3 separate regions of the Homo sapiens genome follow, and regions 2 and 3 are each linked to region 1. Evidence: promoter capture Hi-C in 16 types of primary human blood cells and fetal thymus (Javierre and others, 2016). All regions are on one chromosome and are shown on one strand. Each heading gives the region's core, a stretch centred on a gene start or on the middle of the fragment in contact. The rest is flanking DNA. Distances are from core to core; before and after follow the strand shown. Region 1 holds the start of SYP-AS1 (SYP antisense RNA 1). Region 2 holds the start of PORCN (porcupine O-acyltransferase). Region 3 holds the start of FTSJ1 (FtsJ RNA 2'-O-methyltransferase 1).

What was found. Contacts are between HindIII fragments. The CHiCAGO score rates a contact against its expected background, and 5 or more counts as called.
Region 2: the fragment with the promoter of PORCN here is called in contact with the fragment with the promoter of SYP-AS1 in region 1 in 5 of 17 cell types (activated CD4 T cells, neutrophils, total B cells and 2 more); the score reaches 9.4 in activated CD4 T cells.
Region 3: a contact is called between the fragment with the promoter of FTSJ1 here and the fragment with the promoter of SYP-AS1 in region 1, in 1 of 17 cell types (neutrophils). The highest score is 5.8, in neutrophils.

What each region holds. Positions count from the first base shown.
Region 1 is chrX:49,197,127-49,200,438 of GRCh38, forward strand. It overlaps SYP-AS1 (SYP antisense RNA 1), which reads left to right and starts at 1,713. Exons shown (of 2, transcript NR_046649.1): 1 at 1,713-2,098. It overlaps SYP (synaptophysin), which reads right to left and starts at 3,067. Exons shown (of 7, transcript NM_003179.3): 1 at 3,025-3,067; 2 at 1,842-1,907; 3 at 589-713. The coding sequence starts at 3,060. RefSeq lists silencers at 2,900-2,949, 3,020-3,259. The HindIII fragment of the contact is 12,908 bases long and covers 1-3,312 here.
Region 2 is chrX:48,507,521-48,510,827 of GRCh38, forward strand. PORCN (porcupine O-acyltransferase) reads left to right here and starts at 1,472. Exons shown (of 15, transcript NM_203475.3): 1 at 1,472-1,583; 2 at 2,264-2,436. The coding sequence starts at 2,301. PORCN-DT (PORCN divergent transcript) reads right to left here and starts at 1,319. Exons shown (of 2, transcript NR_135596.1): 1 at 1,199-1,319. RefSeq lists a silencer at 1,299-1,698. The HindIII fragment of the contact is 7,257 bases long and covers 1-3,307 here.
Region 3 is chrX:48,474,243-48,477,609 of GRCh38, forward strand. FTSJ1 (FtsJ RNA 2'-O-methyltransferase 1) reads left to right here and starts at 1,957. Exons shown (of 13, transcript NM_012280.4): 1 at 1,957-2,154. LOC124905185 (a long non-coding RNA gene) reads right to left here and starts at 2,101. Exons shown (of 2, transcript XR_007068226.1): 1 at 1,637-2,101; 2 at 1-946. The HindIII fragment of the contact is 16,848 bases long and covers 1-3,367 here.

The DNA.
Region 1 (3,312 bases), core at 463-2,962:
GCATGCATGACCACGCCTGGCTAATTTTGTATTTTTAGTAGAGACGGGGTTTCTCCATGTTGGTCAGGCTGGTCTCGAACTCCTGACCTCAGGTGATCCGCCCACCTCGGCCTCTCAAAGTGCTGGGATTACAGGCGTGAGCCACTGTGCCTGGCGGGAGTTGGGTCTGTTTTAGTTACTATCATGCTTCCAGCACTTTGAGTAGTACCAGATATAAAATAAGTTCTCAAAAATGTGTATAGAATGAATGAATGGGGATTAAATAATAATATTGGCTAACATTAATTGGGTACCTACTGGGTTAAGGTATGTATATACACCTGTCTTACTTTTGTATCTTGTTTATTGCCTGTCCCTTACCCCTTCGCTGGAACAGAGCCAGAGGGCCACAGCCTATGTCTGCCTTGCTCACCACATAGTCCTAGAGTCCAGAGCAGTGCCAGGTACAAGGCAGGTGCTCAGTGATCCCAGTGGATGTAGCCTCGAGGTGGGAGCTGGGCAGGAGCTACTTGCGGGGGGAGGTATTGGCCGGTTCCACCCTGCCCCTTCCTCTCCCAGGTCTGTTGGTATCCCAGGGTGGGAGCACACCTGAAGGGGTACTCGAACTCGACCTCGATGCTGAGGTCACTCTCGGTCTTGTTGGCACAATCCACGCTCAGCTGGAGCTCCCCACTGTAGCTGCCGCATGTGGCAAAGGCGAAGATGGCGAAGACCTTGGGCAGCAGGGATGGGGATGGCCACAGTGAACCTGTGTGCATGTGGGAGGGAGGTGCCCTCCTCTGGACAGATCGGGGGCCCAGCACAGGCAGCAGCAGATGGAGCAGTCCCCACCCCCACCCCCTAATCAGGGCTCATCGGGACCAAGGACAAGCTGATTACAAGGGTATGGCTGTCTCTTCCTGTTTCTCTCTCTGTGTCTCTCTCTGTCTCTGCCTTTCCATGCTGACCTCCCTCTTCTCTGTTTGTCTCTGTTGTTCTCTGTGTATCTCACTGTGTCTCTGTTTCTCTCGGTATCTCTGTTTCTCTATGTGTCTTTGTCTTTCTCAGATGTCTCTTTGTCTCTCTGTGTCTCTGATCCTCTCTGCCTCTGCCTATCTGATCTGTCGATGTCTCTTTTTGTCTCTTTTTTCTCTGTCTGTGTAAGTGTATGCCTGTATGTCTGTGTCTTTCTGTTTCTTGGTCTGTTTGTCTCTGTCTCTCTGTCCTGTCTCTCACTCGGTCTCCGGATGGTTCTCTCTCTGTCTCCCTCTTGCCTCTGTGTGTTGGTTTCTCTTTTTTCTGAGTGTCTCTTTCTCTCTGTGTCTCTCTCTCCCTCACCCTGTTTTCCTGCCTCTCTCCCTGCGTCTGTTTCTCTTTGCATCTGTTTTCTGTGTCTCCTTTTTCTTTGTTTCTGTTTGTCTCTTCTCTCTTATGTCTGTATCTCTTCTCATCTCCATATTTCTTTTTTTTTTCTCAGTATTTCCATCTCTGTCTTTATCATTCCCTGTCCCTCATTCTCTCTGTCACCTTCACTGTCTCTGGGTTTCTCTGACTTTGCATCTCTCACCCAGCATCTGCTACAGGCTCCACCTCCCCCACCCCTCCCTCACTTCAAGAGAGGAGGTAGGACGTCACAGTCTCCCACTTCACAACGGGGGTACCCTCAGCCCTATGTGACGTCACAGCTCATCTGTTTTCTGGCTTCAGACCCCTGAAACCTCACCCTGGAGCCCAATTCCCCCATCCCCTACAACCCCCGCACTCATCCCTGGCTACTCGCCCCTACTCCACCCCTGCTCTTCTGGACCCCATGACCTCCCTCTCTCCCTGCACTCTGCCCCAACAGCCCGGACCACACTCACCCATTGCAGCACCTTCACAAAGCCGAGGGGCTCCTTGACCACCCGGAACTGACCCCCAGCCACCAGCTGAGGAGAGAAACAGTGGGGAAGGGGTGGGGTTGTTGGAGGTACAGGGAGGTGAGCGGCAAGGCTGCCCATCAATGACCCCAGGGGATGGAGCATGTGACCTCGGGGAGAGGGTGAGAAGGAGAAAGTGACACCTTGGGGATGGTGTGAGCCCCAGGGTCCAAGGACTGGTGGGAAGGTCTGAAGAGATGGTGAGTCAGATGGCAGAGGAAGTCGGGGGTGAGGGAGATGGGGATGAGGTCAGGACTAGTTAAGGAGGGGGAGCAGGTTTGAAACGTAAAGGCGAGTCGGATGGGGAAGGGGTTCGGGTAGAGAATGGGGATGGAGTGGGGTGCATTCGGGTGGGGGGGTTGTGATGGTGAAGGTGAGTCATAACGGGGCAGGAGTCGGTTTGGCTCAGGTGGGGGAAGGGTCTGCAGGGGTAAAGGTGTGTTAGACGGCGGTGGCGGTAGATATTTGAGGTGATGGGGATGGGGAAGGGTTGGGACTGATTGGGGGTGAGTTTCTGAGGTGGCAAAGACGAGAGACATGGCGGAGAGGGTCTGGACTGATTAAGGTGGGGGAGGGCTGGGACACGGCTTCAGTCGCTATGTGTTGGGGGTGAGGAGGCTGGGGGTTTTGGAAGGAGTAAAACCGGATTGTCCCCTAGGTGTGCTCTGGGGGAAGGGGTGGTCGCCTATGGGGGTACAGTCTCTGTTTGGGAGGGGCGGGTGCCAGCCCTCTCCCCCATCCCCGCCCCCACACCTTCTGTCGCTCTATTTCCTAGCTTATCCGCAGCACCCCCCATCTTCCTTCCACTCTCCCCTCCCCTTGTCCCTTGCCCTCACTCCAGCCCCCAGGCCCCTATTCCTCCCCTCGCGGTCGCCAGTAATAAACGGGGCTCCGGGGGCCCCCGCTGCGGCAGTGAGGACGGCCCTCGCTGCGGCAAAGAGCGCACTCCTTTTCTCCACCTCCCCCTTCCTCCCCTTCACCTGCCGCAGACCCCCATCCCCAGCGCCGGGGACCGGGTCTCCGCTGCCAGACCCTGGCCACCACCTCCCAGAGTCGGCTGGCCTGAGCGACCCGGCCTAGGCAGCCGGGCGGCGGCGGGCTCTGTCCACGGTGCTGGAGCGCGTACCTGATTCACCACGTCCATGTCCGCCAGCAGCAGCATCAGCAATGCAGGGGGCGGGAGGCTCGGCTAGCAAGGGCGGCGCGGGGCGCGGCGGGGGCGGCGCGCGCTCGTTGGAACAGCCCAGGCGGCTGCAGCCCCGCCCCTCGCGCCCCCTCCTTGCCCGCCACGCGCCTGCGCACAGCGGGTTGTACCACAGTCTCACCGGCAGCCATTCCGGCCCGGAGGCTGGAGCCGTGAGAGCGTGCGGGAATATGCGTTGGGAAAACACAAGTCGAGGGCCGGGGAGAGGAG
Region 2 (3,307 bases), core at 222-2,721, 690 kb before region 1:
GTGCTCTTTTGGAAAAATAGGCCCTTCATCAGCCTAGGTACAAAGGGGAATGCCTAGAAACTGCAGCAGTAGGGTAGGTAGAAGGCGGGTGCTACATAAATCTTTAGTGTTGGTGCAGATAGAGGTGCGGATGGGGCCAGTGTAAGCGCTTTCTTTTTTATTTTATTTATTTATTTATTTAGAGAAGGAGTTTCGCTCTTGTTTATTTATTTATTTATTTTGGAGAAGGAGTTTTGCTCTTGTCACCCAGGCTGGAGTGCAATGGCGTGATCTCGGCTCACTGCAACCTCCGTCTCCTGGGCTCAAGTGATTCTCCTGCCTCAGCCTCCGGAGTAGCTGGGATTACAGGCGCCCAGCTAAATTTTTTGTATTTTTAGTAGAGACAGGGTTTCGCCATATTGGCCAGCCTGGTCTCAAACTCATGACCTCAGGTGATCCATCCGCCTCGGCCTTCCAAAGTGCTGGGTTACAGGTGTGAGCCACCACGCCCAGTCTTTATTTATTTATTTTGAGACGGAGTTTCGCTCTTGTAGCCCACAATGACGCGATCTTGGCTCACTGCAACCTCTGCCTCCTGATTCTCCTGCTTTAACCTCCCGAGTAGCTGGGATTACAAGCGTGCGCCACCACGCCTGGCTAATTTTTGTATTTTTAGTAGAGACGGGGTTTCGCCATGTTGGCCAGGCTGGTCTCGAACTCCTGACCTCAAGCTATCCTCCTACCCTTGGCCTCCCGAAGTGCTGGGTTTATAGGCGTGAGCCACCGAGCCTGGCCCTTAAGAGCTTTATAAATGCCCCCCTTTTAAGTGCTCGGTACTAGCCTCCCTCTAGTTCACAGAGAACATTTACTAGTCGCTGGGGTCACCTTCGAAGCAAAGAGTCTGCTGGGGAATTAAGCATGCAAATCACTTCTCAACGACGACACGCCAAGTGCTCACAGCTCGTCCCCAGGGGAAGCACAGGCGCCTAATTTGTGTTCCTAGGTGACACAGTCATTACTTATAAATGTTCCTGGCCGGTCCCAGGAGGTGGGAGGGTTGGGAGTTACTTCGGTTCTCTCAAAGGTTGGGGAAGGAGAGATCTCGGTTTGTTTTCCCATCTGTGAAACGGGGACACCACGGTATTTAGAGGACGTGCGCGGGTGACTATTTGGGGGTGCAGCGGCTTCCCTCCTCCCTCCCCCATCTTTCCCTTCTCACTTCCAAGGCTTGGAAATTTGGAGATTCGGAAGTTTGTTCTTGGATGGCCAGAAATCCTCCGGAGGCAGACGGTCTGGGGCTGAAACCGCCACAGGCCGGAAAGGTGCGGGCGTGAACGTCCTGCGCGCCGACGTCCCCCCGCGCCGGTCTCCCCTCAATCCTCCTGCTCCCCTCCTCCGCGTCCCCGTCCCCGCCCCCCTCCTGCTCTCCCATTGGCCGAGCCGGCGGCCGGGCCGCCCCGGGATTTAAAGGGCCCGCTCGCCGCGCCGCTCTGGGAGCCGCTGCTGGTCCCGGCCTTGCGGCCTGCGGGGGAGGCTGCCCGGAGGAGGCAGCGGCGGCGGCAGCGCGTCCTCGGTCCCCAGGACCACGGCTTCTTTCCTGCCAGGTAGGTCGCCAGTAGTGCGCACGCGGCTCCCCAGCTCCCATCCCTGGGCCGGCCTCCCCAGGCGGATCTGTAGCGCGAGTGCTAGGACCCCCTCCCCATCACCTTTCCGACTCTCCCTCAGGCTATGTCTCCTACCACCACCTCCTTGCAGCCCCCGGACCTGGGCAGGACTTTGTTGGCGGCCTCTCGCCGGGTGGGGATGAGATGGGGGGCGCGGAGGATACAGGACACCCCCCCTCCCCGTGCCGCCGCATCCATACAAGGAGAGATGCACACGGCCCCCAAGTGTCACAGAATCCCCCTCTCTGCCCTCCACTCAGAGCGACTCTACCTTGGAAACCAGGGATTCCCCTTCCCGTCGCCCGCCCCATTTGATATATGGGCCTGAAATGTATGCCATCCCATCACCATCGGACTGGACTGTTCACAGCACTGGAGAGACAGAGGTCCTTCATTCACTCCAGGTCACAGGCTGTGCGTGTGCATGCCGAACACCCACATGCACACAGTTGGTGGCTCAGTCTGATGTACCTGACTTCTCACGCCTTCCCCCAGTCCTCCAGTACCGTGCCTCTACATGGGCTGGGCAGCCCCAAACTGAAATGTGAGTGCCAGAGTGCATCCTTTAAGCGAGGTCTGCCCCACGGACACCCGCTCCCTCTGTGTCCCTGCTTTGACAGATCTATCCATCTGGCCATCCATCCGTGGGGGTCTGCAATGGCCACCTTTAGCCGCCAGGAATTTTTCCAGCAGCTACTGCAAGGCTGTCTCCTGCCTACTGCCCAGCAGGGCCTTGACCAGATCTGGCTGCTCCTTGCCATCTGCCTCGCCTGCCGCCTCCTCTGGAGGCTCGGTAAGTGCCTGCCATACCGTGTGCCACCATGCCAGGCCATATCAGACCTCCCACATTCATCCATATCGAGCCACACCTTACCCTGTCACATCCTGCCAGGCCCTAGCATGTCCAAGCTGGACCCCAACATGTTCAGCCCCACCACATCCCACCAGGCCAAACCCCATTCCACCATACCACATCCTACTATGCCAGCCACCCCATGCCATGCCACACCGAGCCACATCCTGCCATGCCAAGCCATGCCCTTCAGTATTCCTGAGTTCTGGGATTCCAGAAAGCTGAGATTCTTGGATCTTGGGATTCTGAAATGTCTACATCCCAAGGTTATAAGACATTGGCATGCTGATGTCACAGGGTTATGGAATCCCAAAGTACCATGATTACAGCGTTTGGAGATTCTGACAATTTGAAATTCTCACATTCTAGACTTCTAAAATGTTGGCATTGTGGATTTCTATAATCAGGGCATGATGCGATTTCTGGATTCTAGGATTCTGAAATGTTTCCACAGTCATAGCAGGCCTGTATCTTAATGAAAGATTCCAAGTCCCCAAGATTCCTATAGGAGGCGGAGATTTCTGGAAATCTGAGATCCGAAGGTTCTACACTTTCTTTTTTCTTTCTTTCTTTTTTAATTTTAAATGGATGTTCTATTTTTTCCCAGGTTTATTATTTTGAAATTTTTCAAAGCTACTGAAATGTTGAAAAAATAGTACAGTGAGCACCCACGTATGCATCACCAGATTCTCTGTCAACATCTTGCCACGTTAGCTGGCTCTATCTGTCTATCTATCTATCTATCTGTATATCTATCCATCTATCTATCTATCTATCTATCCATCTATCTATCTATCATCTTCCTGAATTG
Region 3 (3,367 bases), core at 707-3,206, 720 kb before region 1:
TTTATTGAACACCAACTGTGCGCCACCCCTGTTCCAGGCACTGGGAGGCAGCAGTGAACATGACAGAACAGGAATCCCTGCCTGGTGAAGCTCGTGTGCTAAGGAATCAATCATTCTGTTTTTTTTTTTTTTCTTGAGACAGGGTCTCACTCTGTCGCCCAAGCTGGAGTGCAGTAGCACGATGTCGGCTCACTGCAACCTCCACCTCCCAGGTTCAAGTGATCCTCCCACCTTGGCCTCCTGAGTAGCTGGGACTAGAGGTGCGCATCACCACGCCCAGCTAATTTTTGTATTTTTAGTAGAGACGGGGTTGCACTATGTTGGCCAGGCTGGTCTCCAACTCCTGACCTCAAGTGATCCCCCCGCCTCGCCCTCCCAAAGTTCTGGGATTATAGGCGTGAGCCACTGCATCCAGCCCTTTTATTTTTTAAAGAGACATGGGTTCTCGCTATGTTGCCCAGACTAGATTCAAACCCCTGGGCTCCAGGGATCCTCCCACCTCAGCCTCTGGAGTAGCTGGGACTAAAGGCACATGCCGCCGCCCCTGGCTAATACTCATATGCATGTTGCCAGGATTAAAATGAATGAACAAAGGGAAGGACATGCTGGAGCCAACTTATACAGGTTGGGAGGAGCTGTTCAATTTTCAGAAATTTTGCAAACTGGTTGTTAAACAGCTGGTTTAACAACTGGTTTTGTTTGTTTGTTGAGACAGGGTCTCACTCTGTCACCCACAGTGGAGTGCAGTGGCAAGATCAAGGCTCACTGCAGCCTTGACCTCCCAGGCTCATGCAATCCTCCCACCTCAGCCTCCCAAGTAGCTGGAACTACTCGCACACACCACCACGCCCGGCTATTTTTATTATTTGTAGAGACGGGGATCTCACCATATTGCCCAGGCTGGTCTTGAAGTCCTGGACTCAAGCGATCCTTCCACCTCAGCCCCCTAAAGTTAAACAGCTATGGTTAAAAATGAAATGATATAAACTTACTCAAAACTGGTAACTTCCTAATTTTACCACATTCCACTATTCTCTATGCTCTTGAGGTCATTTACCCCCATTTTATCTGTATGGTAAAAATAATACATGATAGTGCACTACTGCATCTCTTTTAAACTCCCTGTTCAGTGACCACAGGTCGGTACCTTGAAATCTAACAAGAAGATTGTACCTAAGCCATGGAAATTGGTAAATGCTAGAAACCAGCCTCCCTTCCCCCCACCCCTCCCCGCCACCACCCCCGCCCCAGCCAGTGGTTAACCATTTACCAGCACACCACTGAGGGCATTTAGAGCCTAGCACATGGTAAACACTATGATAAACGTTTTCATTATTTTTCCGTTTGTCCACTGGGTCAGGATGTATAGTCTTTTTTTGTGTCTGGGATGGAATTTAAAATATTTGAAGATCACAGAATTACAAAAGCCCAGAGAGTGGCTAAGCTACACCTATTTAACCCTCCCAATAATGCTGTTAAGTCTATACTATTGATTATCCCCACTTTCCAGACAGGGAAACTGAAGTTCTGAGGCAGTAAAACTCAGGCAGCGCCATGCATTAGCTGTAGTGCGATCTGAAATTGCAGCCGAGCAGCCTCCGCGCGCTCGCGCACTTCAAGAACGCATTTTCCTTACTGTCACGTTTATGCCCCGAGTGGTAATTTCGCTTCCCGGCACGCGAAAAATGAATGGGCGCCATCTTGCGCGTGGCATCTTGGGAAATGTAGTTTACAGGCTCAATAACAAGCACGGTCCAAGAAGGGAGGGGCGGGGGAGCAAATCGATCTTGGCCTCGGAAGAAAAAGAACAAAGAATCGCTGGCAACTTGCGCGTCGCGTCGCTGCAGCCACGCAGTGCGTGGATTCAGCCGCTTTGGCCGTGCCCGTTGCATGCCGGGAAACGCAGTTCGCGAGCCCCGGATACGTCGACAATAGATGACGGGGCTCACGTTGTACGTTCACATCAGGTCCCGGCCCGCCGGAACCTGGGCGATCCACGATGCCGAGTTTGCCACGCTGCGACAGCCCATAGGCTTGCCCCCCCGGGCATTCGGGTGGACTACGAACACAAACTGAAGCCCTAGGACTTGTCGCCCGTTTGCGCTCTCGCCGAGGCACAGGCTGCTCGCGGACCACCCTGCTCCGAAAACTAAGGTGGGCCCTGGGGCGCGGAGGACAGGAATGCGGGCGGAGGCTATTGAGGCACGCCTGCACTGTCCCGCCTGCGGGGAAAGGAGGGAGGTCCGCCCTGGGCGCCGTAGCTGTGTATGGTTCGGGCGGCTGGCACCGGGTGGGTTCTAGACCCAAGGTTTGTCTGCAGAAGGGGACCAGTAGACGGGGTGGATTCGAGGTGGGGACATGGGACGCAGCGGTCGGAGCCGCCTGGAGGGGTACCCGGTGGTCCCGATGGAGCTATCATCTTTGAGGTATTGATGAGGAGGGACGGGGAGTGTGGTCAGAAGGCTGTTTTGGGAGGTTGGGTGGAGCGTGAGGGTGGGGTGTTACTGGGGAATCAATGGGGGCTAATAAGAATATTTTAGTCGAACTGTTGTTCATTGATTGATTAATGAGGGGATGGCAGAGTAAGCAACTAGAATATAACGAGTGATGGATGGGAAAATGATCCCCCAGGTATTGATGGAGGTATGATATTCAACGGGTTAATGGAAAGTGATGGGGCATCGTAATGGCAAGGATGATGGTGAGGTTGTGGGGGGAATAATAGATGGATGGAGGTCATGATCAAGGGGCCTTGGTGAAAGAAAAGATAATGAGAGGCTGATGGTGTTGTAGTCAGAGTCAGTAGTTGGGCTATGGTGGCATGACCGTCGAGGAATTAGGGGACAGAGTGAGTAAAGAGAGGGCAATAGTAAACTAGGGTTGGGGGGGTTAACTTCTGTTGATACATAGTAGGTGAATAGTAAACTGTTGGAGTGTGATCATCCAGTGATGGATCCATGGAGAGCAGGGTGGACAGTGAGGGGAGAATGGGGAACTGATGTGTGATCAGTTAACGTGTTTGTTAATGAAAGAGTTACAGGGCAGGAGGCTAGTGCTGTGATCTATGAAGGGTCTATTGGAGAAAACTGAGTTAATGGGGGCTGATAAATCAGTAATTGAATGCTTAATGGGGAGCTAATAGACCATGATTCTCCAGGCATTGTTAGAGGTTCATAAGGATGTAGTAATAAAGGGGCCTAATCATCTAAGGGATTAATGGCGAATGGGGTGAAACGAGAGAGATATAGGGAGTGGGAGGTACAATGAAGTAGTATTAGGATAAAGGTGGAAAACAAGGGATTAATGGGGGCTAATAGGACTATATGAATCTAGGGGCAATGGGGACAACTGGGGATACAGTCAGTGA